2 separate regions of the Homo sapiens genome follow, and region 1 is linked to region 2. Evidence: promoter capture Hi-C in 16 types of primary human blood cells and fetal thymus (Javierre and others, 2016). All regions are on one chromosome and are shown on one strand. The core of a region is centred on a gene start or on the middle of the fragment in contact, and the rest is flanking DNA. Distances in the headings are between cores, read along the strand shown.

Region 1 (4,060 bases), core at 226-2,725, 120 kb after region 2:
GTGGAAAAGACTTTTCTTTCCACTTAGCGTTGCTCTGGTACCTTGATCAAAAATCAGTCGACGACATGAGAGTGGCTCTATTTCTGGCTGATATTGCTTTCTGTGTATTCTGGGCATGACCAAGAGAATGTCTGTTGGCAAAGCTCCATCTCCTGATGCCATTCACCCACTCTTGGTAAAGCGACTTGATGTTTGTTTTTTTTTCTGTTCTCTTCTGCCCCAGGGGACTCAGAAGAAGATCCTTGACATTGCCAACATGCTGGGCTTGTCCAACACAGTGATGCGGCTCATCGAGAAGCGGGCTTTCCAGGACAAGTACTTTATGATAGGTGGGATGCTGCTGACCTGTGTGGTCATGTTCCTCGTGGTGCAGTACCTGACATGAGCCAGCCACGCTCAGTGGCTGAACAGCATTCCCACAGCCTGCAAGTGTGTGTGTGTGTGAAAGAGAGAGGGGGGCCCAGAGGCCGCCTTTTGAAATGTTTGCCTGTCTGAACTGTGAAGACACTTGGGAGTGATTGTGGTCTAATTTCCAACCTGCTCTGTTTTCTGTGACATCTTGGAGGGGGAGCTAGTGCCACCACCATGCGCGGTGCTTAGGAAATGAAAGAAGTCCCGGGTCTGTCTCTCTCACTCTCGCTCTCACTGGGGGAGGGAAAGAATGGCTTTGGTGGCTTTGTTCACATAGCTGATGCGTGCCCTGGGAAGGTGTCCACAGTGAGCCCTGTGTGCAGGACTGTCCACACGGTTCACACCTTGTCACCATCAGGCCTTTCTGGCTCCTGATAGGGTGGAGCAAAAGTGGAAAGGAAAGGAAAGAGGCCTTTTCTCACAGCCATTATATTAAATAGTAGGTCGATTCACATCCTCGTGCTCCTGGCCACCCTCCCCTGTGCCTCAGTGACATGTAGATGACTGACTGCCAATACTTGTCACCATTCCCTGGAAGCAGCTACCTAGGGGAAACAAGATGTAGTGCTATTGCCGATAACAAGTAAGATTTTCCACACTACAGCTGGGTGTTTCTCTTTTCTAAAGTGAGGCCAGTGTTATTTCCCGGGAGTGTTCAGTCTTGACCCTAGTCACTGATTTTTTCTAGTTGTTAATAGAGTGGTTGGCTTTTAAGGTTCAGAGACTGTGGCTTGGCACCTGCGCCCAGGCTTTGTGGGCCTTTGCCCCTTAGAAAGTAGCTGTAGGCAAAGATTTGTGATTTTCCAATTACAGTCTCAGCTCTAGTTTTAGTATCTCTAATTCTTTGGTTCCCTTCTCTTCCCTGAAATATATTAGCACCTGCCAGCCAGGCCCTCATTTTGCCCAGCCAGTGTGGGCAGATCCCACCGTGGAGACATCTGTAGTGTGTATGTCCTTGTAACACTCTGTTTTCAGGGACTACAACCTTTTTCCTTCTGTGACCAGCCCCGGATTCAGGCTGTACTAATACCAGGTATATTGTGGAATTTAGTATAAAGGCCAATCTGTCCTGAAGTCCATCTAATGTGGTGAATCACTGAAAGTCTCAGAAAGACCTGGTTAGTGTATGTTCTCATTTACCACAGGCCTACCAGCCCTGGGCACAGCAGCTTCATGGCAAGACATAAAATGACACTCAAAATCCTTCAGATCTGGAAACCGGCTCAGTATTAACCCTACCTTTGGTTGTCCTGCCCTACCTGCTCTGTTAGTTTCTTGTTGCTTGAACTGTCTTCTGTCTTATTTCCCTTCCTTTCTGTGTTCCTCTTCACCTCTCTTGTTCCCCTCCCCGCTGCTCTGTAGTCATGTTGGTCCTTTCAGGCACCTCTGTGGCATAGCTCCCCTTTGGTAAGTTTTCTTAATTGTCATAGATTAACTGAGTTTCCTGGATGCTAATTTCACACTTTCGGTTGGAGGAGATCTCCATTGTTCCTACCCCTCCGGGCCAAATGGGCCCCAGGTTTCCAAGGAAGGAGCAATCTGTGACTCCTAAAATGGGTTGGGGCCCTGCCAGAGTTAAAGCAGTGACTGGAGGGTGGACTGGGGGGTTGCAGCATCTTTAGACCTAGATCTGTCTAACTCTGGGGAGGCACATTGACATTTCCATTACACACAGCACTGCTGCGGTGCCAGGGACCTAGCGCAGGACTTTTGGTAATCCATAAAATGGATTCTGAGACTGCGACGGCAAGGCTGTCCTGTCCCCCAGGCACCCAAGGATCCTGCCAGACAGCACACTTTGGAGGAAGGTCTGCAGGGAGCAGCTGAGCCATTTGTTCTTGAACTCTGGGAGGCAGAAGTCCCCGCACCCATCATGCGTGGACTGATAGGACATCTTTTCGTGGTGTGCACCAGTGCTTTCCACACTTGACAGTGGTTGGCTTTGATGAACCCTCATGCTGCACCTTCAGAGCCAGTCCTCTAGTTTGGAATAAAAATTGCAGAGGTGGTTTTTGGGTCTTTACCACCTGCGGCTGGTGGACAGCAGCCAGTGTGTCTGGACACCCAGGGGCATTGAGACTGCATGTTGTCACATGACCACTTCTCTTCACACATCTGCTTTCAGTGCCTGGTGAAAAATAGACCTTGGCCTAACAGTGTGACTCTCTCCACCGCCTCAGTGTAGGGAAGGGTCCAGGCCAGGGAAGGAGCACCCTCTAGTGGAGGCGGGGGTGAATTCTTAGGTCGAGCTGATGCAAGAAACTCCGGTAGCCAGCCTCTGTGACCTTGTACATGAGTTTGGTGTGCCTATTGTGATTTAAAACAGGTGGGTTATCAAGAGGAACTTGAGATCTCTTTATTACATGGACATTTACTTCAGGGGGACCACTGTAAGAAAAGCCAAACTCCAAGACCAAGTAAGTTAGAGGAGTCTTGATTTTTTAGACTTCACTGCGGAGTTCTGTACACCCTTTGCCCTGATGAATTTGAATGGGTTTGATTTGCAAATTTGGATTTACACCCATTGTTTTGGAAGCACATCAGCTGAATAAAGTTGAGGTTTATTTTATTTAGAAAATCACATTTTGTAAAAGAATTCGATATTCATTTTTATAACTAATGGCCCCCTTTTTTTATGTTTCTAGGCCAGAGATTCTCAAACACTGCTCCATGGCCAGGGGCTGGGCTGGCTGCTTCAGAAGCAGTGGGGAAGCTTTTTAAAATTACATATTCCTGGGGCCTACCCCAGATCTGAATTAGAACCTTTTTTAAATCTCTAAGGTGATTTTATTTTATTTTTTATTTTTGAGACAGTCTCGCTCTGTCACCCAGGCTGGAGTGCAGTGGCGCAATCTTGGCTCACTGCATCCTCTGCCTCCTGGGTTCAGGTGATCCTCATACCTCAGCCTCCTGAGTAGCTGGAACTACAAGTGTGTGCCACCATGTCTGGCTAATTTTTTTTTTTTTTTTGTATTTTTTAGTAGAGACAGGGTTTTACTATGTTGACCAGATTGGTCTTAAACTCCTGGCCTCAAGTGATCTGCCTGCTTCGGCCTCCCAAAGTTCTAGGGTTACAGGTGTTAGCCACTGTACCTGGCCTCTAAGGTGATTCTGATGTGTGTATTTTGGAACCACTGTCTCCTAGACAGAAAGCTTCTGTCTCAAAGATGATCACATTGGTGTAAAGAGCAAAACTTGTTAAGTCCAAAATAAATTCTTACTGTTTATATCCTACCTTAGTCCAAAAAAGATTTGAGGAGACTTTGAGGAAATAACTGAAACAGATACAAAGAAGTGAGGCACAAGAACAAATCAAGTCAGTGTAGAATGTCGACATCAGGACAAGGAACTCAAACGTTGTAACACCCTAAGAAATGTTTGGGGAACCCTAATTTGACTTTCAGCTCCAGTAGCCAAAGCAAAGAAAGAAACGTCATCTGTTACTGTCTCAACCGGGGGGTGACATTTTCTCAAGGGAAAGCCTAGGCCCTTCATAAACAGCTTGCCTGTAGGCCTCACGGAGGTCAGACAGGGATTTTCCTGGCTCCATCCCTGCCAATCTGAAACCCTCTCACTTATGTTCTCCATCATTTATCCTCATTATGCAGACAAGGGGCTGAGCTGTGGTGACTGTGAAGGCCTCACAGGA
Region 2 (4,526 bases), core at 1,853-4,352:
TCAGAGGCCCATCTACCCTACAGCCCCAGCCCTAACCCTGAGAAGGTGACTCACCCTCCACCCCAGCTCCAAGACCAAAGAAAAACAACCTCAGAGAGAAGGGCCAGTGACTCTAGTGCCTGGACAGACAGGACAAGCTGGTGTCAAGGAAGCCTGTGCCCCTGCCTCTCTAGCTTGCCATCCCTGGCCAGCTGTGCCCCCTGCAGCCACCTTGTGAGACTTTTGCTTCCTGTTGGACCTTCCCTCCAGGCCCATGGCTGCCCACCAAACACCCAAGCTCAGGTGTCATTCATACCCACAGGTAGATGTCTGCAAAGATATTCACAGCCACACAGCCCTGGGCCCAGCACCTGGGGACAGGATCACAGGCGGACTCAGACACAGCCCTCACACAGCTATGGACTTGAGGCTCACTCTCCTCCTTACAAGCACAATCAGGTCATGGCCATGAGCACTGATATTCATGCACAAAGACATCTGTGGGGCTTTCCCCACACTGTCATGAAGGCATGCGCGCGCACGTACACACACACACACACACTCACACACACGCACGCACGCACACACACACTCACATGCCCAGTCATGAACACAGTCAAGCCCAGCGTCACAGGCAGACACAGGCTCTGACCTTTACATGGGCAAAGATACTTCTAGACTTCTCTCTGTCTCTTACACATGTACATACACACATCACAGCACCAGCCACTTGCTCACACTCGTGTGCAGACACACACAGCACAACCTGTCGTGGGCATGGATCCCCCAACACGCCCACACGATTTCACATCCATAGTAGCCCAGTTGCAGGCACAAACACTTTTGCACACAGAGACACACTGGTGTATAGAAAACACCTCTTAGGGTCATAGACCCAGAACACACGCACACACACACACACACACACACACACACACACACACACACCTCTCTCCTTGGCTTAGACAAAGCAGCATTCCTGTCCCCCACCAAATTCCCAAACAAGCCATGTGTCTAGCATTATGTTAGGGCCAATGTCTTGACCTTCCAGGTTTCCCCAGCGTTTCTTCCTATTGGGCAATCCCTATCTAGATGGTCCCCAAGATACCATTTCACACCAGAATCTACACCAACTGGAAGAGTGCCCTCTTCTAGTTCATAGGGCCGGAGAGACTGGTCTCTCTTCCTCAGTCCCTGCCACCTATGGGCCGCCAAACCTTTCCTTCCTACCCTCCCCCAACCCACCAGAGTCTCTGCGAAAGCAAGGCGAAAAACGGCATGGCCTTGGCCCGGGAATGGGAAGAGGGTCAGGAATGGCCGGGTGAGGCTGGACTGGTGTTGGCAGCAGCCTTTCCCCAGACTGGCCGAACCTCCTTCCTGAAGTCCCTGGCTGCCCTGGCCACCCCATGGACTTCTTTATGTGCTGGAAGCCTCAGGTTAGCCCAGCCCCCCGGAAAAGTGTGGGTTGGGCAGAAGAAAGACTTCCCCTTGGCTGGCTGTCCTGGGAGCAACTCCTAGCACCCTCTAAACAGAGACCCTTGGCCATGTCCCCACCCTCTCTCCCAGGAGCCCCAAACACCCAGACACAAATGCTGCCATCCCCAAACAACTGGAAGACTCGGGGTGTGGCCCCCAAGTCTCGCTGTCTCTGCTCCTCCTACCCTGGACTCTGGGTTGGCGAAAGGCAGGGAGTCTGGGGACCTGCAGGCGGTACCGCACCGTGGTGGCACTTCTTTCTGACTTTCACCCCGGGGGCCACAGCCCACTTCTCACTCACAGATCCCAAATTCTTCCTCCTCACCTCCCCCCGCCCAGGCCAAGGCTCTCCTATGTCCAGGAGGGGAAGATTCTTTAATTAAAGTTTTCCGGAATGTAGGGGGCTGGAGACTGGGGAGAGGCGGAGTGTAATTTAGAGAACTGGTTTCAGTGTCTTCCCCTCTGGCCCCTGGGACCTGCGGAGGGTGGGAGAGCGGCGATGGGGCCGCTCGGAAAACAAGGGGACTCCTGGAGCTGGGGCTCCCAAAGCGATGTTTATTCCTCACCCAGGCCCCCCAGACACGCACAGCCCCCCCCAAGCACTGCTCCCGGCTTCCCAGTCTTATTTACTAAAATGTCTTTTGTATCCACATTTCTCAGGGACGGAATTCTCCCTTCCCTCTCCCTTTCTCCTCGGTCCTCGGTTTTCCAAAAGGAAGAAATGTGACATGGAGAATTGGATTTTTGGTCAAAGAACAACAAGCCTACCCCTCCCAGACAACACATTTTCAAGGAACCCCCCTTTTGCCAGGGTGGACAAGCAAGAAATGAATAAAATCCGAATTCAATGGCATCCCGGATCAGCAAATACCATATTCACTTCAGAGGCTCAAGATGAATCTAGAGCGGTGGGGAGAATCTGATGAAATCCCCCCACCCACTCCCCTGCCCCGGGAGGAGCCCTGAAGCCTTTGGGGTCTGAAATAGGAAGGCAAAGGGGGGTTATTATGGGGAATCTCTTGATGGAGGCGCCGGCAGAGGTGGGGTGGCAGTGAAGGAACAGGATGGTTTTGCCCATGAAGACCCCAAAATGGAGAAGAGGAGTGGCTGGGCCCCAGGGACAGTGCTGGATTTCCAGAAACCCAACTGCAAGCAAATGGGGGGTCTTCGGGGGCCTCTAGATTGGGACGGGCAGAGGGTTAGGATCTAAGAATAAGAAACCTTCTGAGATGGGAAAAGTCCTCCAGCCCCTGCAGCGGGGAGCAGGGAAAATGGTGATTATCAGAGGAGCCAGGAGTTGGATTCTGAAGGCGACACCAGCAGAAAATCCAGGAGGGGTGGGCGGGTGGGGGGCTGGAGGGAGGCGAGGAGAGGAGCCCCAGCCCTGCAGCGGCCCACCCCCAGCCGGCGCCCCCACCTTCCCCGGACGCGGCGGAGAAACCGGGCCGCGGGCAGACAAGAGGCGAGTCTTACCACCAAATTGGGTAGCCAGCGAGGACCCTGGTGCCACCGAGCAGGAGGCCGAGGAGCAGCCCGAGCAGGTGGGGCTCCATTAGAAGAGGCGCCGAGGAGGAAGTTTGCCCGCGACCATGAAGAGGGGGAGCGACGCCCCCAATAGTTGGAACAAAGTCCACTTGAGATTGGAAATGACTTTCGGGCTTGTCAGAAGCGCACCTCCACCCGCAGCCGCCCCCCTCCCGAGCCCAGCGCGGAGCAGCCGGGTTTGAGGATGTCAGCGAGCAGCCAATCAGCGCCCGCGGCCTAAGGTAAGAGATGAGTCTGTAGTTCAGCCTGTCAATCACGCGCCCCTCCCGCCCGGCCCACAACTCGGGCTCCGGGAAGGGCATCGCCCAGCAAACTTGGGCAAAGCCCGCGCCCCGGACGCCGCGGGGCTTCGGGGGGACGCGGTGGGCCGGACCCTCTGCTACCGCCGCGGTCCCCCGCTGGCCAGGGTTAGGGCGCGGGGGCTTTGACCCGGGCGTTCACATGGCGAGGGCTTGGCGTGGGCATGAACGGGTGGCTCCTTTGCTGGCGGGGACCGTGACCCGTTGGGACGTGGGCCCGCGAGGAATCGAGGGTAGAAAGCACAGGGATGTTTCCAGAAGCCCCGCTCGGGCAGGTCAGGATCAGAGGGTGGGGGAACGCACCCCCTCCCAGCTTCCAGCCTCCCGAGTCCGCCCGCTCTCTGGCCTCTCGTCCTGGCCGCGGGAGGTCACTTCCCGGGTGTCCGAGGAACGTGCGGAAAAGTCCGCGGAGGCTCGAAGGTCTGGCTGCGGGCGGCGCCGGGGGACGGAGCCGAGTGTCATTTGAGTCTTTTGTCAGGGATCAGATCGGTATCGGGACCTCCTGCTGCCTTTGCATTTCCTGCAACTGACACCAGCGGCCAGTCGCATTTCCTGCTCTCGGAGTCGGGTCACTTTCTCCTCCTTGAGGGGTTCAGGCCCGACCTCTGGCCCGGGTCGGAGGCGTGACCCACAGCCTCAGTGGGATTCTCGGTTGGACCATCAGGGACCGGTGAAACGCGCAGCTCTGGCCGAGGGCGGCCCAGGTCCTTGGAAGACCTTGCTGCCCTCCGGAGCGCCCCTCACTGCCCGACCGTCCCGCCTGAGGCCCCGGTTCTACTGATAGGGAGCTCCAGCCTGGGGTTTGGCGATAAAGGCCCTTGCCCTGTGCGGACACCAAATGCCTCCAGTTACCCACCCCTCCCCACAGGAAAGGAGTCCTTCCAGGCCCCCTTCGGGCTTGCTTCCTCTCCTCTCCCTCTCCAGAGCGAGGAATTAGGTCTCAGCCCTGGGTGGTATTGACATCATGGTCAGGTTTTGGGGACTCACGCCCGGTCACCTGGGTGCCTTTCCCTAGGCCCCCTCCCAGGCCACCTGAGGCACCAGGACTCTGCGCAGCCCCGGTCTGGGGTGAAGGAAGCACTGCCGGTGGGGAGCAGGGACCGCTGTGTAGGGAACTGTGGCAGAAAGGGCAGAGAATGAGCCGACCCGAGTCCCACAGAGGCCTGGAACGGCGGGCGTTCCACGAGGTGAGGGCCATGGCTGAAGGAAGTCTTACGCCAGGGGGCC

What was found. The method cuts DNA at HindIII sites, captures the fragments that hold promoters and counts their contacts. A CHiCAGO score of 5 or more calls a contact.
Region 1: a contact is called between a fragment that was not itself captured here and the fragment with the promoter of WNT3 in region 2, in 3 of 17 cell types (M0 macrophages, megakaryocytes and erythroblasts). The highest score is 6.5, in M0 macrophages.

What each region holds. Positions count from the first base shown.
Region 1 is chr17:46,938,376-46,942,435 of GRCh38, forward strand. It overlaps GOSR2 (golgi SNAP receptor complex member 2), which reads left to right. Exons shown (of 6, transcript NM_004287.5): 6 at 224-3,645. The coding sequence ends at 385. It also overlaps a transcript of LRRC37A2 not described here. Among named protein-coding and RNA genes, the nearest start is that of GOSR2, 17 kb to the left of the region's middle. The HindIII fragment of the contact is 3,294 bases long and covers 1-3,122 here.
Region 2 is chr17:46,815,590-46,820,115 of GRCh38, forward strand. It overlaps WNT3 (Wnt family member 3), which reads right to left and starts at 3,103. Exons shown (of 5, transcript NM_030753.5): 1 at 2,929-3,103. The coding sequence starts at 3,008. It also overlaps a transcript of LRRC37A2 not described here. RefSeq lists an enhancer at 4,158-4,526. The HindIII fragment of the contact is 21,295 bases long and covers 1-4,526 here.